Regions from separate parts of the Homo sapiens genome. Here all the other regions are linked to region 3. Evidence: promoter capture Hi-C in 16 types of primary human blood cells and fetal thymus (Javierre and others, 2016). All regions are on one chromosome and are shown on one strand. The core of a region is centred on a gene start or on the middle of the fragment in contact, and the rest is flanking DNA. Distances in the headings are between cores, read along the strand shown.

Region 1 (2,996 bases), core at 46-2,545, 360 kb before region 3:
TAGCTCTTACTCATCAGCTTTCTCTTTAATTCCTAATTCCTAAATAGCCATCCTGAATCTCTGCAGAAAAAAAATATACATTGTATTTGATACAATACATTTTACCAACGATATATATGCACAACTGTATACATGTGTGTATTGTATGTATATATATATATATATATATATACACACACACACACATATATATAAAAAACAAAAGCTTTACATCAATATTTACCCTTACTGCATGTGATAGTTTGGCATGCATATATTCTATTCTATTTCATTTTCTTTCTATGCTAATCATAACCCACCAAATTGATTTCACAATCCACTAAGCTACATCTGAAAAACAATGCACTATAGTAAAGAAAATGTTTATTCCCTCCAAAATTGCTGCTTCTCCGTCTCTACAACGTTAAGATATGGATTACAGTTGCTGGCAACTTTAAATCAAATTTTGAACCCAATATATTTCCCAGTCCCTATTTAAATAATTTTTAAGAACATAGTAGTTATAATTTTGTATATATAGCTTCAAATCAAACACAGTAGTTATAACTCCATAAAGATGGCTTCAAGTCTTACCTCTTAAATTATTACCTGTGTAATTGCATAAAAGTGACTTCAGCTAGTTGCAGTGGCTTATGCCTGTAATCCCCACTACTTGGGAGATTGAGGCAGGAAAATCACTTGAGGGTAGGAGTTTGAGGAGTTTGAGGCCAGCCTGGGCAACACAGGCTGTTTAAAAGACTTTGTCTTTTAAAATAAAAAATAAAAAAAATTTAATTATCCAGGTGGGGTGGTACCTGCCTCTAGTTCCAACTACTCAGGAGGCTGAGGCGGAAGGATCACTGGAGCCGAGGAGTTTGAGGCTGCAGTGAGTTTGGTCATGCCACTGCACCACTCCAGCCTGGATGACAGAAAGAGAACCCATTTCTAAAGAAAGAAAAAAAAGTGACTTATTTAAGCCTCAGTTTCCTTATCTGTTGATTGGGATAATAACTACCTCCCAGAGATGTTGGAAAAATTTTAAAAGAAGCTGTGTATTAAGTACATAGTAAAGTGCCTGATATTCAGCAAATGGCAGCTATTGTAATTACTGGTCTTTTAAAAACAGGATTGTTTTCTTGTTATTGAGTTATTTATATATTTTGGATATTAGCCCCTTATTTTATGAAAAGAATATTTTCTCCCAATCTGTGGGTTGTCTCTTCACTCTGTTGTTTCCTTTGTTGTGCAGAAGTTTTTAGTTTGATACAATCCCATTCATCTATTTTTGCTTTTGCATGTGCTTTTGGGGTCATATCCAAGAAATCATTGCCCAGACCAACATTGTGGAGCTTTTCCCCTAAGGTTTCTTCTAGTAGTTTGATGGTTTCAGGTCTTAACATTTAAGTCTTTAATCCATTTTAAGTTGATTCTTGTATAAGGGGTCAGATAAGGGTCCATTTCCATTCTTCTGCATGTGGGTATCTAGTTTTCTCAACACTATATTGGAGAGACTGTCCTTTCCCCATTATGTGTTCTTGGAATCTTTGTCAAAAATCAGTTAATTCACTGTAGACCCATGAGTTTTTTTCTCAGCTCTCTATCCTATTTAGTTGGTTGATGTGTCTGTTTTAATTCCAGCTGTTATAATTACTATAGCTTTGTAATATTATTTCAAAATTAGGACAAATGACCCTGTTAAAAAAAATGTGCAAAATGCCTAAACAGACATTTCTCAAAAGAAGACATACAAATGACCAACATACATGAAAAAATGCTCAACATCCCTAATCATCAGGAAAATGCTAATTAAAACCACAATGAGATATCACCTCACAACGTTAGAACGTCTGTTGTCAAAAACATGAAACGTAAGTGTTGGCTGGGGTGTGTAGAAAAAGGGAACCCTTGCACACCGTTGATGAGAATGTTAGTACAGCCATTGTAGAAAACAGTATGGAGGTTCCTCAAAAAACTAAAAAGAGAATTACCATATGATCCAACAATCCCATTTCTGGGTATATATCCAAAGGAACTGGAATTAATATGTCAAAGAATGTCTCTACTTTCATATTCACTGCAGCATTATTCACAATAGCCAAGATACAGAAACAACCTTAGTGCCCATCAACAGATGAATGGGTAAAAATAATGTGGCATACATACACAATGGAATATTCGTTTCAGCCTTAAATATTCAATACAGCTTTAGAAAAGAAAGAAATTCTGTCATTTGCAACATGGATGAATCTAGACGACATTATGCTAAATTAGCCAAGCACAGAAAGACAAATACCACATGATCTCAGTTATATGTAGAATGTAAGAAAGTCAAACTCATAGAAGTAGAGAGTACAATAGTGATTGCCAGAGGCTGGTGGGTAAAAAGGAAAAAGAATCAAAAAGTTCAAAGCTTCAGTAAGGGGTAGTAAGTTCCTGTGATCTATTGCACAGCATGGTAACTGTAGTTCATAATAATGTATTGTATATTTCAAAATAGCTAAAAGAATAGATTTTAAATGGTATCATTGCAAAAAACAAATACATATGTGAGGTAATAGACATGTTAATTAGCCTGATTTGATCATTCTATGATGTATACATATATCTAAATACCACATTGTACGCCATAAATATATATAATTATTACTTGTCAATTAAAAAAATAAAAATGGCTGGACACGGTGGCTCACACCTGTAATCCCGGCACTTTGGGAGGCTGAGGCAGGTGGATCACTTGAGGTCAGGAGTTTGAGACCCGACTGGCCAACGTGGCAAAACCTTGTCTCTACTAAAAATATAAAAATCAGCCAGGGATGGTGGCAGGCACCTGTAATCCCAGTTACTTGGGAGGCTGCGGCAGGAGAATCACTTGAACCCAGGAGGCAGAGGCTACAGTGAGCTGACATCATGCCACTGCACTCCAGCCTGGGCAAGACAGCAAGACTCCACCTCAGAAAAAAAAAAGAATTAAAAAATAAAAATGATAAAAATTACTTGGCCTTTACCAAGGACTACAT
Region 2 (3,401 bases), core at 717-3,216, 280 kb before region 3:
AACAGGCCACAGACTGGTACTAGTTGGGGACCCCTGCTCTATAACACCTCTGAAAGGAGTTTAATCTAGATTACAGGGAAACTCAAATATGCTAACATAAGCCAAGAGCTCTTCCTTAAATGGGGAAGATTAATGACAAACTTCTGGGCTGTCCAAGTTCTTGGGGCACTTCATGGCTCATACAGCTGGCGAAGCTCTGCACCATCTTTCTCATGTTTGACCTAACATCCTGTGTCTCCATTGTATTTCATACCATGTGTCTCCCCAGCCCAAATTCAAAAGAATATTTAAGACCTTCCAACAGGATCTGAAAGGATGACCCTTTGAAATGGGTCATTACTAGTGCAAAGAACAGTTTCTGCCAATAAGAATTTCCCATTTACCCCTAAAGGGCAAAGATTATATTTCACTGATATTTGTGGGTTATGTTCCCCACACCTCAACCCCAGTACGCAGCACTATGCCTAGTTCAAATTAACACAGCAGGAGTTTGTGAAGGAGGAAAAACTTTTTCTCTGTTCCTTAGGAGGCCTGCAAATTAAACTGAAAAAAAAAAGAAGAAGAAGAAGAAGAGGAAGTTTATTTGCTCATATAATGGGCATATATGCAGGAGTGCTCAGTAAATCAAAGAAGTGGTTAGAATGTGGGGCTTATGTACTTAAGTTATGAGAGAAAAGGAAGATGGAAGAAAAGACATCTATGGGAAAAACAAATAAGTTTCTTTAGGAATGATAGATGGATTTTTAGGAGAACAAATTAAAGATAAGAAAGTTTGTGATAAGTGGTCTATCTTCTTCATGGTCATGAAACTCCCTGGAAGAGCGAATCTGTGGTAGGTTAACTCTTGGTCTGTCTCCCAAAGACCTGCCCTAAAGAGAGAATTTATGGCAATCTCACATACCAGAGGTTCCTGCTTTTAGTCAGATAAGGAATGCTTCAAGAAGGCTCCTTTCTGTACCTGTTGAATCTCAGATGTCTTCAACTTAATCTTTATACCAACTCTTCATTCCAAGTGGGTCCCCATATGTTCAATTAATGAAGATGGAACTGGATGAAACACTATGTGGAGCATGGTTCCTAGGTGAGATAAGCTAAGCAAAATGATTCCCATGCTGATCACTGAAGGACTTCATTCTTTCTACGAGGCACTAAATTAGAATTCTATTAGGTGGAGGCTACAGTAACTGCCCAGTGGGTTCACCTTGCCTGCTGCCTAGACAGAGCCAATTTATCAAGACAGGAGAGCTGCAATAGAGAAAGAGTTATCCACACAGAGTCGGCTGTGCAGGAGACTGAAATATTATTACTCAAATCAGTCTTGCCGAGCATTCAGGGATTGGAGTTTTTAAGGATAATTTGGTGGGTTGGGGGCCAGTGGTCAGGAGTGCTGATTGGTTGTGTTGGAAATGAAATCATACGGAGTCAAAGCTGTGCTCTTCTGTTGAGTCAGTTCCTGGGTTGAGGGGGCACAAGATCAGATGAGCCATTTTGTCAATCTGGGTGGTGCCAGCTGGTCCATCAATTTCAGTGTTGGCAAAATATCTCAAGCACTGATCTAAGATTTTCCAATAGTGATGTTATTCCTAGAAGCAATTTGGGGAGGGTCAGAATCTTGTAGCCTCCAATTGCATGACTCCTAAACCAAAATTTCCAGTCTTTTGGCTAATTTGTTAGTCCTATAAAGGCAGTCTAGTCCAAAGGTAAGAAGGGGGTCTGTTTGGGTAAAGGGCTGTTTTCTTCTTTGTTTCCAATGATAAACTAGTGCCTCTCAATGTAAGTTTGGCCTATACCCTGGAATGAACAAGGACAGCTTGGAGGTTGGAAGCAAGATTGCATTGGTTAAGTTAGATCTCTTTCACTGTCTCGGTTATAAATTTGCAATGCTGGTTTCACTACTGAATGCATCTCTTTGGGATCTCAGCTAGAAGAACCAACTGTTCTGCTTCAACTCCAGGCCTGATTACTTGGACCAAGGTAGTGTTGAAGCTCAGAAAACAATACCACAAAGTATGGTCTTTGGCATGCTAAGCACTTTGAATTAAAGGAAATTAGAAGGCTTTAGAAGCTGCCTCAGAAGCAAGGTCTCTCTGACCTTCCCTTTTTCTTCCTCCAAACACAAGGAGGAGCTCTCTCTAGGGAAGTTAGCTGACTGAGGACAGTACTACCAAAAGAAACACAATTACCTTCAAACATTTGTCTGAAATCTCATTGTCAGGGGATTAGTCACTGAAGAAGAAAATGAAGGCTGTTCCCATGCCCATCTGTACAGACCTTTTATCTATTCTTCTGAGGCCTGTTACCTGAGAGACTTTATCAGCATAACAACTGTTGTTCACAGTACAGTTCTGTCCCTCAGCTTCCTATAACTTGTCACCATCTTCCCCAGAGCCCAGAGAAACTTTGTCCCAGCCTATTGTCTATTCTTTAAGCCCATATATCTCCCCTAAAAACCATTTACTCTTCCTCTAAAATTGTCTACATCCCCCACTTTGCTCTCCCTTACAAACAGGGCATTTCAGTTTCAGCCATCTGGCCCTTCTTCAGGTGTTCAAACTTTGTAAGCCTTTTATGCACTTGCACATTAATACTGTTGTATGCCTTTTCTCCTGTCAATCTGTCTCTTGTGAGTTTATTTCAGCAAACTCAATTACTGAGCCTTCGGAAGGAAAGTTTAGCTTTCCCTACAGTGATGATAAACCCACCTCCCACCCATGTTTCTTCTGCCGAGGCACAGGTTTTCTCTTTGTTTTGTGTTGTTTTGTTTTGAAAATTAACTTGACTGGGAAAATCAAACTATATGGACAGAACTTAGGATGACAGGATGGGTTTTGAGAGCACTAATTTTGTGGCATATTGTTTTATCCAAGTTTACTTTGCAGCTTGGTTGGCATGTATTCAACCATCCTCAGCATTACGTGGAGAGAACCACCTTCTCAAAGACCCTCATTTTAGTCTTGGACCTTTTCCTCTTCTGCTTTCTCTACTGGACACTCTCTCTACCCTACCTCTGCAAATTGGCTGAACAAAGTAGTAAAAAAGCATAAGATTTGGATACAGTTTCTGGCTAAGCACCCTAAAACTCTGTAGGCACATCTCAGCTGGTTGCCCAGTCTGAACCTTGCACCATACTCTTGTTGGAGACCAGAATATGCCACTCCAAAATATGCCTCTTTGGCATAAGGATCATTTTAAGCTAATTATTTTAAGAAACTGCAGACACAGGAGAAGCTCTGACACGTTAAAGTTACCCATTGTAAGGAAATTTACATCTATGAAGGAAATCTCCATTTGTGTTGACTGTTTTGTTGTTGCTGTTGTCGTTTTTAGAAACAAGTTATTACCATGTTGCCCAGGCTGGTCACCACCTGCTGGGATCAAGTCATCCTCTCATCTCCCAAGTA
Region 3 (2,940 bases), core at 328-2,827:
TCTATTAAAAAAAAAACCACACCCTTGTTTCTATTGCATTATTACATTCCCTATTATCCCATCACATGTTTTTTCTTCTTGCAGCAACACAGTACACACCCTGTACTATTGCTGACATAAAAATTACTTGTCAAAAATACCTCTATCTTAGCACCACATTACTCATCTGATCTTTGCAAAGCACTGGCCTTTGTTTCACCTGGGACTAGATAACTCAACTGCTTTTACTAGTGACTCCTGAATGCTTGTAGTAGAAGGATAAATGCTAGTGTCACCTATGTTTTTAAAGTCACCTTCCAAAACAAAACTACATTGGAGGTGAATAATAAATCTTTCAAGTTTTTAACTTCATTTTTCAAGGGATTTGGAGGAAAATGGTGAAGAGAGAATCTGTCACAGATACCAAGGTGTTACTGCAATGTAAAAGAGAGTAGACCAGGAGCCTTTGGCCCTCAGCAATCTGTCTTCCTACAAGAAAAATCGAAAGCCCATTTCCATAACCATTCTTATTCCCTGCTACTAGTGTAGGATGCGCAGGACTCTGCCCTCTAGCAGAAAATGCTAATGCCGGAGTGTCCTGCTAAGTCTGAAGGTTACGTTTTTTCATTGCACTCTTATCAAGATAACCCCAGATCTGGCTAGGCTGACATCAAAACAGAACTATCCTTGGAAAGAAAAGAACAGGCCAGAGTTTTTGGAAAAGCCCCAATAACCTAAAGATAAAATCCAGAATGAGAGTCTACTGGTTCATGGCTATCTAAATGGAAACTTCACTCAAGCTGTTTTCTCTGTTCTCTTTCTGCTGCCCCCAACAGCCCTCCCTTCCACCTCCCAGTACTCACTGCTAGCATGTCTCTCTTAATATTGCAAACACTATTACAATGAAGGAACAGAAGAAAGACAGTATTTCATACGAAGGTCACTGCATTTGACCGGTGCTCAATTAGAGCACTGGGCAAAAGTACAATCAGCCTTCCAATGATACCTTTTCAACAAAGGATACCCCACCTCTAGACTGAAGCCTAAATCTATTACTACAGATAAGAAAGCAGGCATCTATGGAAACCTAACATTCAGATACAACTGCCTGTGTATGAATTATATCAAAATTCCCATGAAAGGAAACCAGGTGGGATTTCTACAATCCCAAATTCACCCTGCACCTACCTCCAATGGCTTCTTCAAAGGGAAGGTATAAAGTCATTTGCAATTTATTTCTTTGAACCAGGAGTTTTAGCAGCCCCCACACCTTCTCACAGATAGGAACGATGTTGATGCAGAAACCACCCAAACAGCCCTGTGCCAGCACTGTCGGCCCAAATGACCCAGAGACACCCAGGCGCTACCCAGATCGTGGGGGGTTACCTGTATCTGTCACCGAGTCTCTTTCACCCCTTCTGCGTGATGACATCAAGTGGAAATGGTACACGTTTAGGAGGCAAGAGGCTGACAGGCAGGAAACACAATTGAGACTGAGCTTTCTTCAGCCTGCAGTGAAATACATGCAGGAAGGGTTAGATACGCGCCGCGGAGAAGGAAATCCAAGCGCCCTCCTGGGCAGACGGGGCTGGAGCGGGTGCACTAGGGAGGTGGAGCAAGGCAGATGAGGTGTGGAGGGCTGGCGGCCGAGAAGGGGGCGTCACGGCTCCTAATTGTCTCTACAGGATAAATAACCACCTCCCCCCTCCTCCGCAGTCTCCCCCGCCCACGAGTTCCCCTCTGGTGGCAGAGCGCCTACTAGCAACAGTAAGCCCTAGGAAAGAAAGAAATCGGAGCAGGTGGGGAATAACATCTTGGGGCAAAGACACACTGGCAAAATCTACCAGGTAACCCGGTCATATGGGAATGCGGGGCGCCTAGTCAGCCGCGCAGACAGGCACACAGCGCGGCAATCCCGAGCATCTTTCTTTCGTTTGCCCCTGTCCGCCACCTCATCAAGTCACCGCCACCTCATCAAGTCACCGTCACCTCATCAAGTCACCGTCACTCTGCTTTGGCGATTTCTCTACTCTCTCCAGACCCAGGCAGCGCTCCCCAAGCCATGCCCCGACCCCAGGCGGGATTGGGGACCGCCGCTTCCCGAGCAGCGCCCCACGAGTCCAGCTGGCTTTGTCCTGCCGCTGTCCTTCCAGGAGCAAGCGCCCCAGGCGCGTGTGTCTGCACAAAAGACCCCCAACATCTGGCCCTTCACAGCGCTCTCTAATCCCGGGAGGGGCCCTGGGGCAACTTCTAGGGCTGGAGAAGGCGCGAGACAAGGGGACCGGGAGAAGATGAGCCGGGGTGTGTGCGGGCCGGGGGCGCAACTGGGGCGGGCGCGCGCGCACGTGCACACCCAGGGGCGCGCGCGGCGCGGGCACGAGGAAAGCTCCCTCGGACCGGAGCTCCAGGGGGCATCCGAGGACTCGGCCGAGCAGCCGACAGCGCCGCTCCCCGCCGCGGCCGCCCGCCCAACTCCGCCAGCTCTCAGGAGACACGCAACTCCCGGGACCACCTCCCCCGTGCCCCGCCAGACCCCGCGCTCCCCTCCCCGGGACCCTGCGGCCCCGCCACCCCCTCCGCGGTCCAGAAGATCTCCCCAGTTACAGCAGGCGGCAGCTGCCCTTTCCCGCTTCCACGGCTTCGGCGCGGCCGCCGTAGGGGCGCAGACATCCCTGCGCACCCCTCTGTCCGCCCCCGATCCGGAGCCGGCAGAGCAGAGAAACAAACCGAAACTCACTGACCTTTCTCCGCGGCGGGCTCGGGTGCTCGCTACAGAGGCGGCGGCGGCGGCGACAGCATCGCCGGGTGGTCCCGGCGCGCCCGCTCCTTTCAGCCAGACTCGCGCCCCGGGCCGGCGGCCGCCGCTCCTCCGGCCGAGAGCCACGGGGCGGACGCTGACAGCGCGGCGGCGGCGCCTGCAGCCCCAGCACCCGGCCCGGCCCTTCGGGCGGCACCCCCACC
Region 4 (3,261 bases), core at 560-3,059, 340 kb before region 3:
AAACAGGGTCAGTTTGCCTCTGCTGAAGAAATAAGGACATAACAGGCTAGCAGTGGCAGAACACTACTGGGGTAAGGAACCCTTCCTTCTTCCTCTCAAGTCATACTGCAAGGTGGCTCCCCAACTCCCTGGTATGTAAGGCCATCCTTGCAATTCTTTTCTAATTCCACACTCAAAAACAGTGAAATAAAAACACCTAAACCAACTCTTGCAAAAAAGAAAGTATCTGTACATATATCCTTGCTCTTCTTATTGAACTAATCTATAGCATATATATCATGCTTAGAGAAAAACAGATTTAGTAGATACTAGTATTATTCAATACAAAAGAAGTCCGAGTTTTCTGAGGGAAAAAGCCCTGAGGATTGAAATTAGAATAGAGGTACAGATATTCACATACACCCTTGATCCCAAGTTCACCTCTATACCAAGAGACAGACCAAAGAAAGAAGTTCCTGTGTAAAATGTCAACACTTGATTTTCTAGGTAGGTCCGTGCAATGTGCTTCTCAAAATACATTTAAAAATACAACATGTGGTTTAATTTTGTTGTTTTAGTTCAGTCCTACGTAAAGAGAGGAAGAGTATAAATAAGTAACCTTTCTAAGTTCTTGGATCCCTGTGTCAAGAGAAAATTGTTACGGTTTCTGGTCCCTGACTGCATTGACAAGTAAAACCTCCCTGCAATTCCTTGAGTTTCCATAAGGTGGCATTGGGAGTCCTTTAGCACAGAAGTGGATGACCTGTAAGAGGCCTTTGAAGAAACTTGTTCCTGGGAGGAATTTCCAGACTGGCTGTCCTTACTTCTATCTTTGGAAAATGTCGAAGTTAAAAGTTCGCCCTGGCCCACAAAAAGCCATCATTACAGAAATACTGATTTAAAGAGACTGGCTTGGAGAGGCTCTCAAGTTAAAAATGGTGTGCAAGGGACAATTTATCTTATCCCTTCCCACCCACGATGATGTCTTGTCTTTTAAACCGTACAGAAAAAGTAAACAGTTTTCAGGAGCTAAATTGAGCAGAGCTGTCATAAAATCCTCACAGTTTTAAGTACCCTTACTTCTAAGAGTACACATCCCACATTAAAAATAATTCATCAAACTTTAAGATTTGACTTGCATTTGTCAACAAAATACTATATTTTATAGACAACTAAATAAATTAATTCTGACTTCCTGGGTTTTTTTTTTTCATGTCTCATATATGTATCTAGTGCCTAGAAAATCTCATAAGCTCTACGCACCGTGCCTATAGTACACGAAGAATAAACCATCCCTAGAACTAATTCTCTTCTGTCAGAGAAGCCTTTCAGCTGAATAAGACCATTTTCCTCAAAATCTGATTTTCAGGGCATCATGTAATATTTGTTATGTAATATTTGTTATTTACCTAATTAGATTACCTTAAAAAAAAAAAGACATGTAGCTGTCTTTATTTTTCAAAAGACGGACTAGTTCTATATAAACGGCCTAATTCTCCATGACCATCAGAATTCTCTCCAGCAAGGTATTCAAAAGACTTCCAATTTTGCTTCCTAGCGTTATCCAAAATACCGCCCCTACCACTTCAAGGTCACCTCTGTGAAGCCCTACCCAGTCTCCCAGGTAAAATTCACTGGCCCTGCCTCTGTACTCTCCCAGTGACACTTGTGGCTCTAACAGCCCTTATCACTGTCTGACTTGCATTAATTATCAGCATCCATAATCTCCTTAGATTACAAGCTCACAAGAGCAGAATCCATGTCACACTCAATATTGTTTCCCCATTGCTTAGCATAGAGGATTAAAAATACTTGGGTTTAATAACTTTACTGAATCCTGCAAACACAGCATGCTCACTTCGAATCTCACGTCTCCAACCTGCATCAATCCAAATCACACTCCAACCTTTCAGGCTCGATTCAAGCCCACGCTTCCTTAGAGTCCTATTAGTCTCTTTTTCTCTAGGAATCCCACCCTCCTTTCAGTCCACGCCTCGTATTTTTGCACACAGGGAAAATACACATGAGCGTATCATCGTTTCCTGTGTATGTTTTGTCACCAAAGCTATCTGGGAAAATATTACGTATTAATGTCATTAATTGCAATTGATAAAAAAGCACATCTACATTCAAAAAAATTTTTAAATCATTGTTGTGAGTTTTATTAGTCGGTAATCTTTTACTGCATGTATGAATGTACTCCACTTTCTCCCCTTGGATAAACTGGGGTCTTATTTTGCAGTGCTGTCAAACTGTCACTGTTCACCAGCTATAACAAAGCACACCAGAAAAAAAAAAAATCAATAGCAGTTCTACAGCTAAAACCTCAACACTCTTCCTGGAAAACGTTTTCAGAGAGATAAATAGCTCAATGGGATTATCTCTATCTCTCCTTTAAACCCCAGCGAACACATTCTAGGGGGGAAAAATGCATTTGTTGGGATAAAATTTTATCCAAACCTGCAAGGGCACATCTAACAGTGTGGTGTTTCTTTGATAACATGATGAATTATATAAAAGGCCACTGCTCATTCTCTGCCTTCCATAAATACCCTTGGGTCCAGAAAGCCACAACCACCTCTTTAATGAAAGGCTTCTCTGAGGAACCTGAGTTTATTGGACCCCAGGGATCACTTATGTTCTGTTGTTTTTTAGAGGTATAAAAAGACTACAACTTTGGTGCACACTTAGTATGTGTGTCTCTATGCATATTAAGATATGATTATATACAGAGTAGAATCCTATTAAGATGCTAATATACGGAAGCAGAATTCCACCTACATAATAAGACTTTCACATTATAAGAGGATAAATGTATATTTTTCATCATATAAACAGAGCACGTGATCTGGTCCTTAGAGTATGTTGGTCCATAGCAGGCCTTTGTGCTTTGTTAGTGGGATTTTAAATTGGGTGTTAGGTGTAGACACACAATTTCAAAACAGCAAGCTGATGGTAAGCGACTATAGGCAACTTTTTCTAATTAAACCATTTGAAGAAATACAGGGCTTCATTGTCCACAACCTGACTTACAGAAAGAGGACAAAGTGGACTTAAATTAGAACTCCCCGAGGTTTCAGATATCCAAAAGCTATCTCTGAGCCCTCCACTCGGTAGCCCTTCCCCTATCCGTGGTGAATCAAGACTACTTCTAGTCACCGCACACACAGCCACATCTCCTCGGTAAACACACTCTCCTTTTTGTTCCTGGCAGTGCTGGTGTTGCTCATTTTGTCCATGAGGCGGCACCGGAAACAACCATACATCATCGACGACGAGGAA
Region 5 (3,270 bases), core at 480-2,979, 260 kb after region 3:
TTTTTTAAAAAATCATCCACTTTGTTATTATAAATGTATTACATTTGAACAGCATTTTCCCAAAGGCTTTCCTACATCTCATATGGTCCATTACTACAAGAGTCTGATTCCATGGTCAATGAAAGATCAAAATTTACCCAGGATGAATCACAAACTAGAAACGAAAAACAGGTTTCCTAAATCCTAATCTAGGGCTCATTTTACTAATAGAAACAAAGGAGTTTAAAACTTCTCTTATTTATTTAGAATGTGTAATTTTTTAGAATTAAATCTTAGAATTCAGAACAGTGTGCTACAACATAGAACTTTCAAAGCTCATGAAAACAGAAAAAACGTGGGATACAGTCTCCAATACTTCAGGTAAAAATATGCTTTTTGTATATTAACCACTCAATAGCACAAACCTTAACATTATCAAAAACCCACGTATCCAGTTTTGTTGCATCTTGAGCACCAAAATCCTCTCTTTTAGCATCATAACTATATGTATAAACGTGGTCTCCACTAGCACCTGAAAAGAAAATTTGGAAAAAATAATCTTTTTACAAAATCTTTTAAACTATCATAAAATATGAGCTAGTCATTCACAGATTTTTGTGAGTAACCAGAATTTTCACAAAGCATTGTTCATTATGATGGGGAAGAGAAAAATGGGAGGAATAATTAACATTTATTTATGTTATGTGCTATGGACCATGCTACATACTTTAATGTATTCTATTGCTTTTTGTCCTCAAAAATAACATATTTTAATTTCGCAGATTCATTATATGTTAATTAACACACCAAAATCACAACTCTAATAAGCAATATAACAAAAATAAGCACAATATTTGTCTCCCTTTAAGGATTAAACTATTCAAAACATGTGTGCCCCTTAGAATGCTACAATCTAAAATAGATGATGTGTGTTGTACAAACCTTCTTAACATAAGAAGAAAATTCAGATATTTCACTTCTCTTATTCATAAACTATGAGTATTTTTCTCAACTTCTAAGAGAATAAATATTGCTTATTGCCAAAGAGTTTGAAGGGGTCAACAGATATGACAATCTCATATATTTGCAAGAGTGTATTAAGAATCTAAACAGTTTAGTGAATTTCTGAGTTTGATAGGCTCTTGCAGGTAATAAGAAAGAGATATGGCCAGTGTGGTGGCTCACACCTGTAATCCCTGTATTTTGGGAGGCCGAGGCAGGTGGATCACCGGAGGTCGGGAGATCGAGACCCCCCTGGCCAACATGATGAAACCCCGTCTCTACTAAAAAGAGAAAAAAATTAGCTGGGTGTGGTGGTGTGCGCTTGTAATCCCAGCTACTCAGGGGGCTGAGGCAGAAGAATCGCTTGAACCAAGGAGGCAGAGGTGGCAGTGAGCTGAGATCGTGCCACTGCACTCCAGCCTGGGCAACAAGGGCAAAACTCCGTCTCAAAAAAACAAAAACAAAAAGAGAGATATATAATAAAGTAATACAATCTTTATAGCACCAGTTCAGCTCTAATGACCCTATTCCACAGCTCAGCCATTCCTCTTCCCACATCCCAAATAAAAAGGTCTGACTGGGTTTGCTGTTTACTACAAGATATGGAACATTAGACTATCTCTAATTCAATTATTTGTCCTCTCCCATCCATTGTAGCCAGAAATAGGAATGTTAGTTTGATAAGCCATAGCAACTGAATCCACCCTTACCACCACCAGCTCCCAAAAAAACGAAACTGCTTTCCAAAGAAGGCAATATATAAATGGCAAACAGTTTGGGGCTTTTTGGTCCGCCCAGTATAATAATGTTCTATGACTATCATCTGTAAAATTCTCAATATATATTTTGCTTCCTGGACACATAATAATCTTCAATAGTTCCCATTATTTTAATTACACTCATGACTAAGTATGTTACAAATCCTTTCTGATAAGTGAAATGATCAATCTTTCTGCTCCCACTTAAAAGCATTTAATGACATGAAATTCATCCAACTGATTTTAGAAAATAATATAAATGAATTTTCTAATTAAGAGATGTCCCAATATTTGCAGAATCATGCATATAAACAATAAATCTAAATGCTACATTCAGTATATTAAATATCAATTTAAATAAATTATATGTTAAATGCCATATATATCAAATGCCAGAATATATGGCATCTTCGATGTATTAAAACAGGAATTATAACTATATATTTTAACACTTAAATATTTTTTTTGAGATAGGGTGTTGCTCTGTTGCCCAGGCTGGAGTGCAGTGGCATAATCATGGCTCACTGCAGCCTCAACATCCCAGGCTCTCAAGCACTCTTCCCACCTCAGCCACCTGAGTAGTTGGGACTACAGGCACATGCCACCACACTCAGCTAATTTTTTGTTTGTTGTAGAGATGTGGGTCTCACCTTGTTGCCCAGACTGGTCTCCAACTCCTGAGCTCAAGTGATCCACCTGCCTCAGCCTCCCAAAATGCTGAGATTACAGGTGTGAGCCACTGTGCCCAGCCAATGTTTAAATCTTTATATGAGTAGCTACTAACTTTTAAAATAATTTACCAAAGTATAATGAACCACACCTCAACATCATCATTTATAATCAAGTTATGTGAAAAGTGCTATGCTAAATATTTCACATGAATTACATAATTTAATTATAAAAATAAATCTATGAGACAGAAACTAATATTATCACATTTTATGAAAAGGAAATTGAAGCTCAGAGAGGTTATATAAATTGCTCAAGATTATATAGCTGTTAAGCGATAGTGCTATATACCACTTAATTGAATCCAAAATACTATCTAACTGTATGATGTGCCAATATCTCAAGTATAACTAAGAAGGAAAAAAAAATACTGTAATTAAACATCCCTATTTCAGAAATGTTAAAAATGTAAAAATATGTGTAAAAATCAACACATACATTACATACATAAAAATAGAAAACTACCATATTGACTTACTCCCTATTTACTATCTGAGGAAACATAATCAGTGACTCTTACCTTTGGCAAACATAGGCAGGATATCTGGGCTTCCCCAGCTCCATGTGTATTTACTTTCATTAAAAAGAGAATCAAACTCTACAGGATTTTCCTTCCATCCTTCAGAAAGCAAGCAAGCAGTAATAGTTATATACACATGGTACAATAAGCCCCTAAAGAACTATTCTTCAAATAATAACAATTACATTAGTCAGTGAATAAATGCAAAACTAATAGATTTTATATTATGCATATTATACCACTATTTAAAAAAAAACTAACAATAGATAATTTACTTCTTAA
Region 6 (3,124 bases), core at 7-2,506, 310 kb before region 3:
GGGACATTGAGGGCTCTGAATATCTGGATGCGAATGCTGAGAAATGATACAAGTCAGAAACAGAGAATCAAATACCTCAGGTTCTCACTTATAAGTGGGAGCTAAATAATGTGTATGCATAGACAAAGAGTGTGGGCTGATGGAGAGTGGACACTCAGAAGGGTGGAGGGACAAGAGAGGGGAGAGTGATGAGAAATTACTTAATGGGTACTATGTACATTATTGGGGTGATGGCTACACTGAAAAACAAGATTTTGCCACTACATGTTGTACACATGTAACAAAATTGCTTCTGTACACCCTAAATTTATATAAATTCTAAAAAGAAATGGGAAAGAGAAAAGTCAAAGCTTACCTCCCTATTACTTGGAAACTGGCTCTAGTATTGATTTTATTCCTGCACTCAGGATAGATCATTTGATGAGTAGCTAGGTGAAAGAGTAGCCCAAAGGAAAACAAAGCAGGGTAGAAAATGAGCAAAGCCAAAGATTTTCTGTGTAAAATTCAGCGTTCCAAAACCTCTACAGTAACACTCCAGGTCAGATAATCTGCAACGCCCCCTGGACCTGAGCAACCACACCATGATTGACACAGCCATCAGTTCAGCTACTGGTATCTGTCTATAAGGAACAGAAGCAGCATGCGGATGATGGTTTAAGCAAAGATTTGTTTTTGTCACAAATAAGAAATGCCATGCTGTTTAAGGGACTCAATGGCGTTGGGCCAATGTTGCTGAATTCTCTTGGCTTCCCCATTGGTTTGTAAGATGGCATCAGCAGCTTCAAGGTTCAGATCTCAAACTGTGTTCAAGGGCAGGAAGCTGAGCATAGGGCTAGAAGATTTTCTGTGACTTCCTCTTATTAGGGAGGAAAAATTTTTCCTAGAAGGTCCAAGCAGACTTCTTATATTCTCCCTAATCTATGTCACATTCCCATCCTTAGACCAGGGACTATATCTACATTCCCTAAGAATAACTGAACCCCATCTGATGCCTGTCCAAAGTGGGTTACCCTTGCTCCATCCAAAAGGCATGGAAGATCAGGGGCTGGCACTTTTGGGGACTGTACCTTCTACTGTTAATGGGATCCAGGTAGACTGAGTGCCACTGGATCAGAGCAGAACCATCAAGGCCAGCATAAGCAGGAGGCTGCTGGGGCTGCCAGTTGAGAGAAAACAATCTGTCCCAGGCAGGCATCCTCTCCAAATTTAGAAGCAAGAGCTAGCCTTTCCAGAGGGCTCTTTGAAAATGTTAGAAAATTATAATTAGACTTTGTGCTTCTACCAAGCCTTTTGTCCCAGAAGCTCAGGGCACTTCTCTGCATCATCTCATTAATCTTCACCACGCCATTCGAGGCAGCCTGCAACTATTGTCATCTTTATTTTCAGGATGAAAGATCTGAGATGTGGAAACAGGTCAATGGCTTGCCTAGTGTCATATACTCAGTGAGGCACCAGCAGCTGAGGACAGGACCAAAACTTATCACTGAAGACCCGGGACAAGTACATGGATGGCATTTACTTACCCAGAAAGCATGAGACTTGCAAGGTGACTTGACAGAAGAATGTCAAAGCTCTGTGCAAAGAGGTGAGAGGAACAGAACACAAGCTGTGATTTACTATCCAAGGAACCTTGGGCAAGTCACTTACACTTTCTGAACAGTTCCTCATCTAAAAAATGAAAGTAACATCTACCACATCGAACTTCACTTGGCTGTTTCAAAGACAAAAGAAGTGTTTTAAACAAAACCATGTGACCTAGGACATTTTATAAAATCTAAGTCAACATAAGGCATTGTTATTTGAGAGGATTTGTAGAATCAACATTTAAAATGAGCCTGCAGCTGTTGGCACACAATGATAATCCTGAATTGCAACCAGACAATTATAGAAAATGCTTCCTAAGAGATGACTAAGAAGTTCCTTTTTGCCATTCAATGTGCTATGATCATTTTCACCACTTACTCTATGGAAAGTGCTACAAAGCATGCAAGGACAACTGGACTGTGACCCACATCCTCTAGGAAATACGGTCTGGTAGAGGAGACAGATAAACCACTCATTTCACTGTGAGGAAAAATGAAAGAAAACATGTAATAGCCAAGGAGACCAAATGTGGGGGGTCCAGAGGAGGCTTGGGTCGGTTCCCATTCAGCAGCTCAGAGGAAGCTTTTGGGAAGTTGCAGGGTGATAGGAAAAGAGACCCCAGATGGCAGGAATATTGCAGTGGGGAGAAATGGAAGCCAAGAACATACAATATTATATGACTAAAGAAAAAGGTACATGGAAGATTGTAGACATTCCAATAAAAAGTTTGTGCAACATGGTATTTAGTGGGATGTTTTTTCCTGTTGTCTTGGAAACGTGGTAGCTCCTCAGTGAAGCTGAAACTGAACACAGCTCCTAAACAACCACAAACACCAGCTATGACAGCAACACCACTACAGTGGAGCCCATCACCGCAGAAGGACCAGAAGTGGCCAGGGTAAGGCTGGGGCAGACATACTTCACTAATCTGCAGCAGAGGGTCCCTCAAGATTCCTCTTTCTGCTCCCTTCTCCTTTCCCCTTCCCCTGCACCCCACCTTCCTTTGCTCAAACAAGAAGCCACATCTACAACAGTGACTTTCTTTCTTTTTTTTTCTTTTAAAGACAAGGTCTCGCTCTGTCACCCAGGCTGGAGTGCAATGATACAATCACAGCTCACTGCAGCCTCCATCTCCAGAGCTCAAGAGATCCTCCTGCCTCAGCCTCCTGAGTAGCAGGGACCACAAGTGCATGTCCACCACCCCTGGCTAAAACAATGACTTTCAAACTTCTCTAAGCATGACCCACAGTAAATGTTTTACATTATGACACGATTCACACAATTCCAGGCAGCTGACATCTATTATCACATTTATTTTCACACACACACACACACACATACACACACACCTGAAACAGCTTTTTGAGGAAATCATACTCTATTACTTGGAATGTACTTTGTAATTTGTATTCCATTCTACTCCTTTAAAGAAAAATAAAGATTGTGACTTTCTAAATTGATATTATGAGCCAGCAATGGCTTGTGACTTGCATTTTGGAGAAACCAGCCTAGGACAATATGGGAAGGGCATGGGTCTCAC
Region 7 (2,990 bases), core at 251-2,750, 300 kb before region 3:
ATACGACTGTCATACTGCTGCCCTGGGTTGGTTTCCCAGGAACAAACTTTAAAAGGAAGGAAGTTCTGAAACATGCTACAACATCGATGAACCCTGAAAATACTATGCTATGTGAAATAAGTCAGTTACAAAAGAGCCAATACTGTATGATTCCACTCATATGAGGTATCTGTAGTAGGAAAACTCATAGAAACAGAAAATAGATTAGAAATTACCAGGAGTGGGCTGGGTGTGGCGTCTCATGCCTGCAATCCCAGCACCTTGGGAGGCTGAGGTGGGTGGATCACTTGAGGTCAGGAGTTCAAGACCAGCCTGGTCAACATGGCAAAACCCTGTCTCTACAAAAAATACAAAAATTAGCCAGGTGTGGTGGTGGGCGCCTGTAGTCCCAGCTACTCAGGAGGCCGAGGCAGGAGAATCGCTTGAACTCAGAAAGCGGAGGTTGCAGTCAGCCGAGATCATGCCACTGCACTCCAGCCTGGGTGACAGAGCAAGACTCTGTATCAAAAAAAAAAAAAAAAAAATTACCTGGGGTGGCCAAGCCCAGTGGCTGACTCCTATAATCCCAGCACTTTGAGAGGCCGAGGCCAGTGGATTGCTTGAGCCCAGGAGTTTGACACCAGCCTGGGCAACATGGCAAGACTCTGTCTCTACAAAAGAAATGCAAACAATTAGCTGAGCATGGTGGTGAGCGCCTGTAGTCCCAGCTACCCAGGAGGCTGAAGTGGGAAGATCACCTGAGCCCAGGAAGTCAAGGCTGCAATGAGCTGTGTGCCACTGCACTCCAGCATGGGCAGCAGAGTGGAACCCTGTCTCAAAAAAAGAAGAAGAAGAATAGGAAGAGGAGAAAGAAGGAGGAGGAGGAGGAAGAGGAGGAGAAGGAGGAGAAGGAGAAGAAGGAGAAGTTGTTATCAGGGGCTGAGGAAGGAGAAAATGAGGGGTTGTTGCTTAAAGAATATAAGTTGGGGGTGATAAAAACATTTTGGAACTAGATGGTGGTGATAGTGGCACAACTCTGTGAATATAATTAATGCCACTAAATTGCATGCTTCAAAATGGCTAAAATGACAAAAATAAATATTTACCACAAAAAAAAAAAGAATGTGAAAGAGTAGAGGGAAAGCGAGGCCATTTCTAGATGATCCCTGTTTTTCGACACTAAAAACCTAATTAGAGATCCACTGGTTCCTGCCTACATAGCCTGCAGCATCTTTTTCTTACATTAAAAGGTAAGACTCAGGTCCTACGTTCTCATTCTGAGCAAGAATATCAGAAGGGAAGCCACTCTCAGAAATCCATCAGCAGGGAGGGCGTGCCAGCAGCTCCACTGAGCTGCCACCTTCTCTTTAGTGTATTTGCTACTTGTAGGAAAAGAAAAGCCCTGTGCGTTTCAACTATGACTTTAAGTGTTCTTTTTACTAGGCAGTAGTCCATTAAATTAGATTCAATTAAAGTTGATTTGATTGATGAACTAAGGTCTCATAGTCTCTCCAAAGATAACATAGGTTTGTGTCATCGATCCAAAAACCTCTCACATTTTGGCAACCGTGCAGCAAAATGATTTATTTCCTCAGTAAAACCAGGCAATACTATTGATCTACAGAAACATCACTTTAGTCATTCCTACGTAGTAGAGGTTCTTAACTGTTATTAAATCAGCTGTTCACTGGCTGACACATCACAAATTGAAACTACGCACACAAATCACACGATTGAACTTGAAAAGCCAAATCTGTTTTTATTACACCGTGGAAAGTAGAAATGGGATTTCACTCTGCCGAGGTTATCACATGGAAATAGAAATGCAAAACACTCCTCCTTTTAAAAATAATAAATAGCATAAATCATGTGGACAGCTGACTGCTACATGGTAACATTCCTGTGAGTTTTGCACTAATAAGAAGCTGAATTAGATTAATACCTGTGCATTCTCCTAAACAGTTCAAGGAAATTAATTTAGCTCTCCACCTGTCTGAACAAAATGCTTTTGAAATATTAACTATCCGATTCTTATCACTAAAAAACATTTCCTTTACACCTATATGCACATATGACTTTGCTAAGCACTTCCTAAGCAATTCAGACTGATGGATTATATAATCTAAAAATGCAGTTTTCCTATTAAAAAGACAACCTGGAACTTGTTTATTTAAGTGCGAAACAGCACTGACTTTTTTTTAAGTTGGATTATTTCTGGTTATAAAAATGTGGGGAGGTCTTATTTCATACAAAAGATGTGTCTTGCCAGACCTTGTGTAATTCGAACTTGCATAATTCAAGAATGATTTTCTCAAGGGAATAAATATAAAATAAGACAGATGTATTCTCAGAGCACATTTACAAGTTATAACATATTTTTTGCTTTTAAAGCTGTTTTTCCTGTTCCCAGCATTACATCTAATATTTCATGGAGTGCTGTCTCCCATATTAACTGCACCATGTTTCACAGTAGTCGTTTTCCCTCCTTCTTGGCATCTTATCACATATAACTTCCCTTCAAATGCTATTGATTTGGGGGAACATTTTTCAATGTAAATGCTTGCATCCCTATTTTGTGAACATTTGAATGACATTGTTCCGAGTTGTAAAAATATGTTACATAATAATAACCGTGAATGCTAAAACAAAAACATAATAGTAACTAAAATCACTTGCAGGAGTCCCAAAATGCAAACAATAGCATGGTTTATTGAATCTTGCAAAACTGGATTGGTTTATGTGTTTACCAGCTAAAATGATCATGTTGTAAAAGTGTAAACAAAGATTACAATATTCACTCTGCCTATCAGCTTTAAAATTACATGACTCTTGATAATTTGTTTTAACTTGGTGGATTAACATCTCTTTTTTTTTTTTGAGATGAAGTCTGGTTCTATTGCCCAGACTGGAGTACAGCGGTGTGATCTCCGCTCACTGCAATCTCCACCTCTTGGGTTTAAGTGATTCTCATGCCTCAGCCTCCCAAGTAGCCAGGACTACAGGCACGTGCT

Evidence for each region. Contacts are between HindIII fragments. The CHiCAGO score rates a contact against its expected background, and 5 or more counts as called.
Region 1: a contact is called between a fragment that was not itself captured here and the fragment with the promoter of RNF152 in region 3, in 2 of 17 cell types (megakaryocytes and M0 macrophages). The highest score is 6.1, in megakaryocytes.
Region 2: a fragment that was not itself captured here is called in contact with the fragment with the promoter of RNF152 in region 3 in 6 of 17 cell types (M2 macrophages, M0 macrophages, M1 macrophages and 3 more); the score reaches 14.3 in M2 macrophages.
Region 4: a fragment that was not itself captured here is called in contact with the fragment with the promoter of RNF152 in region 3 in 5 of 17 cell types (megakaryocytes, M2 macrophages, endothelial precursors and 2 more); the score reaches 10.7 in megakaryocytes.
Region 5: a contact is called between a fragment that was not itself captured here and the fragment with the promoter of RNF152 in region 3, in 1 of 17 cell types (M2 macrophages). The highest score is 6.2, in M2 macrophages.
Region 6: a fragment that was not itself captured here is called in contact with the fragment with the promoter of RNF152 in region 3 in 12 of 17 cell types (endothelial precursors, megakaryocytes, M2 macrophages and 9 more); the score reaches 22.0 in endothelial precursors.
Region 7: a fragment that was not itself captured here is called in contact with the fragment with the promoter of RNF152 in region 3 in 2 of 17 cell types (M2 macrophages and M0 macrophages); the score reaches 10.6 in M2 macrophages.

Annotation. Positions count from the first base shown.
Region 1 is chr18:61,532,385-61,535,380 of GRCh38, forward strand. All of the region lies in intron 7 of CDH20 (cadherin 20), which reads left to right. Among named protein-coding and RNA genes, the nearest start is that of CDH20, 200 kb to the left of the region's middle. The HindIII fragment of the contact is 2,184 bases long and covers 204-2,387 here.
Region 2 is chr18:61,610,572-61,613,972 of GRCh38, forward strand. No RefSeq gene overlaps it. Among named protein-coding and RNA genes, the nearest start is that of LINC01544, 140 kb to the right of the region's middle. The HindIII fragment of the contact is 7,553 bases long and covers 1-3,401 here.
Region 3 is chr18:61,891,430-61,894,369 of GRCh38, forward strand. It overlaps RNF152 (ring finger protein 152), which reads right to left and starts at 1,578. Exons shown (of 2, transcript NM_173557.3): 1 at 1,366-1,578. RefSeq lists a silencer at 2,764-2,913. The HindIII fragment of the contact is 8,244 bases long and covers 1-2,940 here.
Region 4 is chr18:61,550,997-61,554,257 of GRCh38, forward strand. CDH20 (cadherin 20) reads left to right here. Exons shown (of 12, transcript NM_031891.4): 12 at 3,194-3,261. Among named protein-coding and RNA genes, the nearest start is that of LINC01544, 200 kb to the right of the region's middle. RefSeq lists an enhancer at 3,090-3,261. The HindIII fragment of the contact is 6,299 bases long and covers 1-3,261 here.
Region 5 is chr18:62,154,141-62,157,410 of GRCh38, forward strand. PIGN (phosphatidylinositol glycan anchor biosynthesis class N) reads right to left here. Exons shown (of 31, transcript NM_176787.5): 6 at 2,989-3,087; 7 at 405-511. Among named protein-coding and RNA genes, the nearest start is that of PIGN, 31 kb to the right of the region's middle. The HindIII fragment of the contact is 3,994 bases long and covers 1-3,270 here.
Region 6 is chr18:61,577,884-61,581,007 of GRCh38, forward strand. LOC124904314 (a long non-coding RNA gene) reads right to left here. Exons shown (of 7, transcript XR_007066395.1): 6 at 1,524-1,573. Among named protein-coding and RNA genes, the nearest start is that of LINC01544, 170 kb to the right of the region's middle. The HindIII fragment of the contact is 1,816 bases long and covers 349-2,164 here.
Region 7 is chr18:61,594,211-61,597,200 of GRCh38, forward strand. The region is part of intron 3 of LOC124904314 (a long non-coding RNA gene); the gene reads right to left. Among named protein-coding and RNA genes, the nearest start is that of LINC01544, 150 kb to the right of the region's middle. The HindIII fragment of the contact is 3,345 bases long and covers 1-2,990 here.